2 separate regions of the Homo sapiens genome follow, and region 1 is linked to region 2. The links are contacts of gene promoters, found by promoter capture Hi-C in human tissues and cell types (Jung and others, 2019). All regions are on one chromosome and are shown on one strand. The core of a region is centred on a gene start or on the middle of the fragment in contact, and the rest is flanking DNA. Distances in the headings are between cores, read along the strand shown.

Region 1 (5,172 bases), core at 700-3,199, 390 kb after region 2:
ACATGAAGATAGGGTAGATGGCTTTTTTTTTATTTTTATTTTTTAATAAATAGAGACAAGGTCTCACTATGTTGCCCAGGTTGGTCTTGAACTCCTGAGCTCAAGTGATCTGCCTGATTTAGTCTCCCAAAGTGCTAGGATTACAGGCATGAGCCACTGCACCCAGCTGGTGGCTGTTTTAAGTAGAATGACCAGGAAAGGCTTCTTGGAGGAGGTGACATACAAACAAAACCACAGACAGCTTTACCATGAAGTCAATGAAGCTTAAGCTTTAAGGCCCTCTCCTAGGCCCTGTATCTAATTGTATATTTGTAATTTGGTATCTTCAAAGGGGGGCCCTTCAAATTGTATAAGCTTTAGTAACCTATAAAATCTGTGTCTACCCCTGGCTGAACTCTAAAAAAGAAAAAAGGAACAAGTAAGAGGACGATCTGGATTATTCCAGCCAGAGAGTATCATGTGCAAAGGGCCTGTAATGGGAATAATTTCATCATGTTCTGAAGTAGGAACAAGAAACTGAAAGGTTGGTGTGGCCCTAGGGGAGTGAGAAATGGGAAGAGTGGGATGTGATCAGAGGACACCTGGCTGCAGATCACTCCTGAGCCATGGTAAGGAGTTGGGATTTTATTCTGTGAGCCTCGGAGAGCTGCTTCAGTGTCGCTAAGCAGGCAAGTAACATGATCGGACTCGCTCTAGCTGTCAGGTAGAGAATAGATGGTAGGGAGCAAGCGTGGAAACAGCAAGAGCATTTTGGAGGTCAGAGATGGTGGTGGCATGGACCAGAAAGTGGCATTTTCAATTCCTCTCCCCGTCCCCTGTACTCAGGGAGCTTGGCTGGGGCAAAAGTTTGGTAAACATTTGTCAGGTGAACAAACACCCAGCAACCGACAGGATTGCCTACTCCCCAGACAGAGCAGCTGCCACACAAGGCAGAGTGAGCCCTCTACAAACTCAGGACTCAAACTGTGGTCCTTGGACGAGCAGCATTGGCACCACCTGCAAGCTTGTTAGAAATGCAGAATCTTGGGTCCCACCCCAGATCTCCTGTATCAGAATCTGTATGTTGGCCGGGCATGGTGGCTCACGCCTGTCATCCCAGCAGTTTGGGAGGCTGAGGCAGGTGGATCACTTGAGGTCAGGAGTTCGAGACCAGCCTGACCAACATAATGAAACCCCCTCTCTAATAAAACTACAAAAATTAGCCAGGCATGGTGGTGGGTGCCTGTAATCCCAGCTACTCTGGAGGCTGAGGCAGGAGAATAATTGCTTGAACCCAGGAGACAGAGGTTGCAGTGAGCCAAGATCACACCACTGCACTCCAGCCTGGGCGACAGAGCGAGACTTTGTCTCCAAAAAAAAAAAAAAAAAAAAAAAGACTCCATATGTTAATAAGATTCCCAGGCGATTCGTGCACGCACCGAAATCTGAGACATGTTGTACCCCAACAACTGCCAGCCACACACTTGCCTGGGCTAACATCTTCCGTGGCTCCCCTGGCCCAGGATCAAGTCTAAGCTCCTTTCCCATCTTATTTTCCACCATTCCCCGCTACTCATTTTCTACTCTTGCTGCACTGAATTTCTCGCTGCTTCCCTAAAAACTCCATTTTTCCTCAAATCTCTTTGCCTTTCCAGCAGCCTGCTTTTGCCTATTGCTTTACCTAGAAAAATCTTACTCATCTTAAGACCTAATCTGAAAAAGCACTTCCTCTGGGATGCCTTCCCTGATCGCCACAGGCAAAATGAGTTGCCTTCTTCTCTGGGTCCCTATGCACTGGGCGCATTCCTCAGTCTAGCACCTGATACAGTATGTTTTAAGTATTAATTTCTGTGGCTGTTTCCTTGTCAGACTGGGCACTTCCTGAGGGCAGGGACTAGATCTTTTTCATCTCTTCAATCCCAGTGTCGGGCACCGAGGAATGAATGGATGAGTGGCCATGCCCTGATGATGGCTCCGAAATCCCCGGCACAAAGGAAGTGTGCACAGTCTCCCCAGGGGAGCTGTACTGGGGTGGAGTGGGTTAGGGAGAACAAGGTCTCTGGAGTCAGAAAGGTCTACAGGTTCATACCTGGCTTACCATTTACTTGCTGTATGACCTGGGGCAAGTGACCTCGCCTCTCTAACCTTCAATGTCTTCATTTGCAAAATCTTACAATCCTAACAATGGTTTCAAAGATAAGTATGCAAAGTGGCTGGAACAGGACCTGAGCCACAAATGACCAAGCCTCCCTCTCCCCACTGGCCCAGCTGCTTGGAGCCAGGGGAGGGGACTGTGGGCCAACATTGACCTAGGGGCTTTGACCTACACACTGGCTTTCCTGCCAGCTCCAGATAGAGCCTCCAGCTAATGGCAACAAAGCTTTCAACAGCTCAGGAAGAGGATGAACATTTGGAAAGAAAAGAAGAGGCTCAGACCACTCAGTTTAACACATGGGCACAGTTCCCTGATGGATCGAGGCTGGGCAGCTGGCCCAGGCACAGCCTTCAGCTGGGGGTGGGGTAGAGAGGCCATAAATATTCATGAGACAGAAGAATTCTGCTGTCTGGATCTGGTACCCTTTTCCCTGTGCAGCATTCGGCCCTCATCCCTGCTGGAAACATTCCCAGTCCCTAGGGAACCTGGAGAAGGGGTTCTCATCCATAGCTGGACAGCCAGAGAGGAGGGACCATCGGGAGATGGACAGAAGGAGGTATGTGCTGGTTGATTTCCCAGGCCAGATTGTGGGTTGGGAAGTTGGGTTCACCAGTCCTGCTAGCTCTTAACATTTGTGGGGCCAGTTGAGGTCAAAAGTACAAAATTCTAAATATTTATAAGCTATAAATAAGATACATCCAAGTTCATCCACAGCTCCTGCACCAGCAGTTCCTTGCAGCCCCGCAGGCCTGAGGGTGCATTCACCAACAGGGCAAGGACTAGAAGTGGTGAAGGCGGGGGAACACCACATTCCAAGTGGGCACACTCTCTTGGATCCAAGTACTCCTTGCTCTGTGGGGATCATGAGGCTGGAGCCCCCCTAATTTCAAGACACTGGGCACCATTTACTGGTATACAGTACATCTTGCCTATGATCATATTTCCTCCTCAGATCATCTTCGTGAGGCTGGTTTTACAAGATACCTAATTTTCTAGGGGTAAAAAGTGAGACTAGAGAAGAAAATAGATTTGTCCATAGTCACACAGCGGGGAAGTGGCAGACTTGGGATTTTGAACTCCAAGGTTCATTCTGACTCTCCTAGAACAAGCTGTGTCCCCTGCTAGAAGCAAACTGCTCCTTGGCCAGCTTGTCCACTCACAGACCTGTCTTACAGCCTGAGAATGGGAGCTCCAGATGCTGTGAGGCCCCAGGAAGAGATGCCTTTGACCTGGGGCCCTGCTTTTACCTTTGTTCCTCAAAGCTGGGAAGGGAATGCGACAAAGGGATGGCATGACCTGCTCTGTATCCATCTGACTCCCGCCTGGTAGGGCGAGAGCTGGGTCAGATCCTGGTTCAACCACTAAGCTCATCCTGTGATTCTGAGTCTCTGTTTCCTCATTTGTAAATGAAGATTTTTATATGGACTAAGAGAAAAGGATATTAAGAAAACAATCTTATTTACAACAGTATTCAAAAAAAATAACATACTTAGAAATAAACTTAACCAGCCAGGCACGATGGCTCATGCCTATAATAATCCCAGCACTCCGGGAGGCTGAGGCAGGCAGATCACTTGAGTTCAGGAGTTTGAGACCAGCCTGGCTAACATGGTGAAACCCCATCTCTACTAAAAATACAAAAATTAGCTGGGCGTGGTGGCGCATGCCTGTAGTCCCAGCTACTCAGGAGGCTGAGCCAGGAGAATCACTTGAACCGGGAGGCGGAGGCTGCAGTGAGCCAAGATCATGCCACTGCACTCCAGCCTGGGCGACAGAGCAAGACTCTGTCTCAAAAAAAAAAAAAAAAAAAAAAGGAAAAAAAAAAAAGAAACAAACTTAACCAAGGAGGCAAAAGACTTGTACATTGAAAACTACAAAACATTGCTGAAGGTCAGGCGCGGTGCCTCACGCCTGTAATCCCAGCACTTTGAGAGGCCGAGACAGGCGGATCACGAGGTCAGGAGATCGAGACCATCCTGGCTAACACAGTGAAACCCCGTCTCTACTAAAAATACAAAAAATTAGCCAGGCGTGGTGGCAGGCGCCTGTAGTCCCAGCTACTCGGGAGGCTGAGGCAGGAGAATGGCATGAACCCAGGAGGCGGAGCTTACAGTGAGCCGAGATCGTGCCACTGCACTCCAGCCTGGGTGACAGAGCGAGACTCTGTCTAGGAAAAAAAAAAATTGCTGAAAGAAATTGAAGATGACACAAATAAATGGAAAGACATCCCAAGTTCATGGATTGGAAGACTTAATATTATTAAAATGTCCATACCACCCAAAGTGATCTACAGGTTCAATGCCATTCTACCAAAATCCCAGTGTAATTTTTACAGAAATTTTTTAAAAATTGTAAAATTCATATGAAACCTCAAAGGACAACAAATAGTCAAAACAATCTTGAGAAAGAAGAACAAAACTGAAAGACAACTCCTGATTTCAAAACATATTACAAAGCTACAATAATCAAAATGGTTTGGACTGGCATAAAGACAGACACATAGATCAATGGGACAGAATAGAGAGACCCAAAATAAACCCTCACATACATAGTCAAATAATCTTTGACAAGAGGACCATGATTACACAATGGGGAAAGAATAGTCCCTTCAACGAAAAGTGCTGGGAAAGATGGATATCCACATGCAGAAGAATGAAGATGGGCTCTTATCTTACACCATATATTATACAAAAATTAACTTAAAATGGATTAAAGACCTAAACATAAGACCTGAAACTATAAAACTCCTCAAAGAAAACATAGGATAAAAGCTTCTTGGCGGGGTGTGGTGGTTCACGCCTGTAATCCCAGCACTTTGTGGGGCTAAGGTGGGCAGATCACCTGAGGTCAGGAGTTGAAGACCAGCCTGGCCAACATGGTGAAATCCCGTCTCTACAAAAATACAAAAAGTAGCCAGGCATGATGGCGGGTGCCTGTAATCCCAGCTACTCGGGAGGCTGAGGCACGAGAATCACTTGGACCAGGGAGGCGGAGGTTGCAGTGAGCCAAGATCGTGCCATTGCACTCCAGCCTGGGAA
Region 2 (5,180 bases), core at 1,568-4,067:
CTTTGATGCAGAAGAGCAGCCTCAATTTCTAACGCAGGTGCAGAGCTTCAGATAAGGGGTTTCCAGACACAACATTCCACATTTATCTTGGCATCATGGTTTCCAAGGAAACAGGATCTTGTTAGCTGGGGCCTGATGATAATCCCTTTACACATAGCCTGGTGTGTTTGGGGGCTATCAAAACACTGCTTCTTTAAAAATTTATCTACATTTCTTTCCCCCAAATCCTGGAATAACTCACTGTCTTCCTGTGTTTTGTGACATGCTCCATGATTCTTTTGGTGTGCAGTTTCCCTTGCAGCAGCAAGTTAATAAACTTAACTTTGTCTGACTACAGGTGGTCTTTATCAGATGGGCTTTATCTTGGAGATTACTGATAACGTACACAAAATGTGTTCATACTGCCTGGCACCTAACAGGCATTTAAGCAATGATAAAATTATTATTTTTATTATTCATGTGTTAATTCAATAAATGTTTGTTTGACATCCAGTATTTGCAAGGCACAGATTTACTGCTATGAGAGATGCTCACTGCAACCTCTGCCTCCCTGGCTTAAGCTACACTCCTGCCTCAGCCTCCCGAGTAGCTGGGACTACAGGCTCAGGCCACTATGCCCAGCTAATTTTTGTATTTTTGGTAGAGATAGGGTTTTGCCATTTTGCCCAGGCTGGTCTCGAACTCCTGAGCTCAAGCAATGATCAGCCTGCCTCAGCCTCCCAAAGTGCTGGAATTCCAGTTGTGAGCCACCGCGCCCAGCCTAAAAACCACTTTTATTTTACATGGAGAAAGAAAACAATATTTTTAATTCCTAAAAGAAAAATATCTTTACTGAACTTCACTTTAAATAGTGTCAAATGTAAATGAAAAAAATCATCAGTACTATTATATAGGTAAAAAAGTGCAATTTACATGACTTGCTTAAGATTTGACATAAAACTACAGATTCTAAGAAACGGTAAGGTTTTATAATAATAACCAAAACAGGCTGGGTGCGGTGGCTCACGCCTGTAATCCCAACACTTTGGGAAGCCGAGGCGGGTGGATCACCTGAGGTCAGGAGTTCGAGACCAGCCTGGCCAACATGGTCAAACCCCATCTCTACTAAAAATACAAAAAGTACCCGGGCGTGGTGGTACACGCCTGTAATCCCAGCTACTCGGGAGGCTGAGGCAGGAGAATCGCTTGAACCCAGGAGGCGGAGGTTGCATTGAGCCGAGATTGCGCCATTGCACTCCAGCCTGGGCAACAGAGCAAGATTCTGTCTCAAAAATAAAATAAAATAAAATAACCAAAATAAGAGTCCCCAAATGTCATCCGTCTCTTTCTAGAGACAGGGAAAAAAAATGCTCTCATAAATTCTCCAACGAAAAATAGAGATAGTCACCCTTAAAAAATCCTAAGGCTGGTGGGTGGATTGCTTGAGCCCAGGAGTTTGAGACCAGCCTGGACAACATGGCCAAACCCCAACACTACAAAAAATATAAAAATTAGCTGGGCGTGGTGGCGCACGCCTGTAATCCTAGCTACTCAGAGGTTAGGTGGTAGGACCTCCTGAGCCCAGGAGAAGGAGGATGCAGTGAGCAGAGATCGCGCCACTGCACTCCAACCTGCGTGACAGAGCGGGACCCTGTCTCAAAAAAAATAAAATAAAGAAAAAATCCTAAGGCCATATACAGGCTCATTCACTTTGGGTCTCCTTTCATCCAGGCAAGCAGCTTTCTGTCTTTGCATTTTCCAAAGACTACAAAGCAGGCTGGGGTGGGGTGGGGTGGGGTGTAGAACACAGGAAACGCAGCCAGTTCCCCTTCACTTCTCACTATCTTGATCTCCTCCCAAACCAAAATCCTATGTCTTTCCTTTTAACATAGGCTTACAAAAATGCAGTTTTCTGTGGGAACATTGAGGTCATGCATTCCAAATTACTTAAGGGAACGATTTTTAAATTTTAGGAATCTAGTTCTCCAAGATATCCCGGCTTGGGATATAGATGAACGAGCTATTTGGGAGAGATTTAGACGAGAATGAATTTTAGAGAAGTAGCGAGGTGAGGAGAGAGTCAGCTTAGCGTTTGGGTTTTGCAGTCAAATTTCAGCAAGGCGAACTAACCTCGCTGGTCTTAATTTTCTCATCGGTAAGAGGGAAAATAATAATGCTTACTTTGATGAATTACTTTACTTCAACATTTAAAAAACCGACTCTCCGTTATCTATTCTAATGATAAAAATATAGATAGAGCATCGTCCCCTGCTGTGAAAAATCTTATGAACAAGTGAATTGCGGTGAGGATTCACATAGTATGTGCTCAATAAACATTATTTTATTGTTTAGATTAGAAGAGGGGTGGAGGGAGAAATGAAAGTGGTTTGGAAACCCCAAACACTACCAAAGCCCTGGGGATGGAAGTAGAGAGGAATTTCGGGTTACGATTTGGTTCCGGGTCTGAGTTTCAACGTTGAATTCTCCCATATTTGGGCCTGAATTCTCAGAACAGAATAGGATGTAAGGGCTGAGATCATCTGGTACAGTTTTATGCAAATCGAAAATTCTTGCCTCTTGTCACTGTGCCCTGGCGAGAAACAACACCTCCACCCAAGCTCATCCAATCTCAGCCCCAACTAGGTGACGTCATCTCCCCGCCCTGCATCCCCAAGCCTCGGGGAGTCCTGTCTCTAAGCTACAGTCCCAGCTCCAGTCCCAGCTCCAGTCCCAGCGGCGCCTGCGCACTTTGGACCGGGGCGGGGAGGACGCGTGCGCGCCGCGTGAGGGCGGGGCTAGTGCGCACGCAGCCTTAGCTCCTTCCCCGCCCTTGCTCTTCCCAGTTTCTCCGTCAGCCTGCGGGTCCCGGCTGGCGGCTGCTTCCGGTAGGAGAGCGGTGTAGAGCGAGCAGGTCTCAGCTCCTCGTCATGTCATACGGTCCCTTAGACATGTACCGGAACCCGGGGCCCTCGGGGCCCCAGCTCCGGGACTTCAGCAGCATCATCCAGACGTGCAGCGGCAACATCCAGCGGATCAGCCAAGCCAGTGAGCCGGGGTACCGAGCTGGGGGGCGGGAGCTGTCCCGGGGACAGGCCTGGGTGAGGCTGCCGGGACGCAGGGCCCGGCTGGGGCTACGGCCGAGGCCACACCTGGGGCTGTCTCGGGCTGTCCACCCTGGGGGCGGTGGGCTGCCATCCCCCAATCTGTCAGGCCCGGGTTGCCCGAGGGTCCCCGGCCCCAGCTGAAGCTTGAGCTGCTTCTCTGGAGTTCTGCCCCCACGGTGCTGGGACCAAAACAGCCGACTTGACAGCCCGAGGGTGGGAAGGGGAGTGTGTGTCACCTCGAGAGCTGTGAGTGCGTTGACTTGGCGCAGTGGTCAGCCGAGTTTCTCCTGTCACCCACCTTCCTCCCCACCCACCTCGCTTTCCTCTTAGACCAGTTTGGATGGGGTTGTTTACTGATTTAGCCTTTAGGTTTACATTCTGCTCAGCCCCTGGCTCCTCGGAAATCAGCAACTTTCAATTAAGGGAAGTGGAGAGTGCATGTGTTTGGGTGACTTCATACACAGTTCTTCCTGTAATGAATTCGGAAATCAGACACAATGACTGGTATTTGAAAGGTGGGATGACTTCATTTTAATAAAGAGAATTCACCAACAGCATTTCAATTTACATTATTTTGTCTTTTGTAACAAATAATTGGGGTGTATTTTTGGATTTCAGGCAGATGAGGCTTTTGTTTTCCTTCCCTACTTAGCTGCTCTTGAACAAATCTGGTACACAGGGAAGCTAAGACACTTAGCCACAACCACATAGCAAGTAAGGCATGGTAGAGTTGTTGGTGGAATTCAGAATGCTATTGCTTGTCTTAAAACTCCCTCCTCCCCATTAGGGTCTGAGTGAAACTGTAGCTGAATGAGTCAAATACAGGGTGTTTCTTGTGCTTGAAAATCATCTTGGAGCCTTATAAACAGGAGATCAGCAGCAGCTTTACTTGGAAAGAATGGTGGTCATCATCCTTGTTGTTTATTATTGTTTTGTGAGCTTGGCGTACTCTGTTAATAGGTAGAACTAGTTAGTCCTGAATTACAATTATATTCTATATTTTAAAGAGTGTCACTTTGCTTTCGTTTTTAAACTTTTAAAAATTTTTCTTTTTTGTAGAGATGAAGTCTTGCTATGTTGGCCAGGCTGGTCTCAAACCCCTGGGCACAAGCACTTCTCCCACTTTAGCCTCCCAAAGTGCTGGGATTACAGGCGTGAGCCACTGTGCCTAGCCTAATTTTTTTGATTTAAAATATTTTTAATTTATTTTTTCGAGACAGAGTCTACTTCTGTCACCCAGGCAGAATGCAGTGATCTGAGTGAAGTGGTACAATCCTAGCTCACTATAACCTTGAATTCCTGATCAGCTTGCTGAGTAGCAAGGACTACAAGGATGCATCTACCGTGCCAGGCTAATTTTTAAATTTTTTGTAGGGATGGGGTCTCACTATGTTGCCCAGGCTCACTTTGCTTTTAAATCTAAATGTATATTGTAGAATTTGAGAAGTAGAAAGTTTCTGATCAAAAGGGATTGAGACTCTGGAAGTGAAAGGAAGAATATGTGGCCTGTTAAAATCCAGAAGTAAAAAAAATTAATATGACCACTGGTTAGAAAGTATAGTACTGTTTGTTCCAGTTTCCTTTTGTGAAGGAGCTGTAATACAGGTTAGATCAGAAAATTCTAGTTCAAGGCTGAAATTTTCTTGTTGAAGCTAAATCTAATTTTAATATCTATTTGCGAAATATTCATTCAACATGTATCCATCTATCCATCTTCGTGTGTATTTTATATATATATAAAACCAGAATACTCCCAAAGGTAGATCCGACATACAGTTTTAAATTTAAATTTAAATTTTTATTTTGAGACAGGGTCTCACTCTGTCACCCAGGCTGGTATGCAGTGGCATGATCTCAGCTCACTGCAGCCTCAACCTCCCTGGCTCAAGCAGTCCTCCTGCCTCAGCCCTACAAGTAGCTGGGACTACAGGTGTGCACCACCACGCCCGGCTAATTTTTATATTTTTTGTAGAGATGGAGTTTCACCATGTTGTCCAGTCTGGTCTTGAACTCCTGTGCTCAAGTGATCCACCCACCTTGGCCTCCGAATAGGCCAGGATTACAGGCATGAATCATCATGCCTGGCCTTCAACATAT

The links. The method cuts DNA at HindIII sites, captures the fragments that hold promoters and counts their contacts. A contact is called where the count stands out against the background at its distance.
Region 1: a fragment that was not itself captured here is called in contact with the fragment with the promoter of STX12 in region 2 in 1 of the 25 tissues and cell types used here (mesenchymal stem cells).

What each region holds. Positions count from the first base shown.
Region 1 is chr1:28,161,479-28,166,650 of GRCh38, forward strand. The region is part of intron 1 of PTAFR (platelet activating factor receptor); the gene reads right to left. Among named protein-coding and RNA genes, the nearest start is that of PTAFR, 13 kb to the right of the region's middle. The HindIII fragment of the contact is 3,366 bases long and covers 267-3,632 here.
Region 2 is chr1:27,770,402-27,775,581 of GRCh38, forward strand. It overlaps STX12 (syntaxin 12), which reads left to right and starts at 2,818. Exons shown (of 9, transcript NM_177424.3): 1 at 2,818-3,024. The coding sequence starts at 2,907. RefSeq lists enhancers at 2,538-2,687, 2,654-3,154, 2,808-2,957, 3,155-3,655 and a silencer at 3,068-3,277. The HindIII fragment of the contact is 12,641 bases long and covers 1-5,180 here.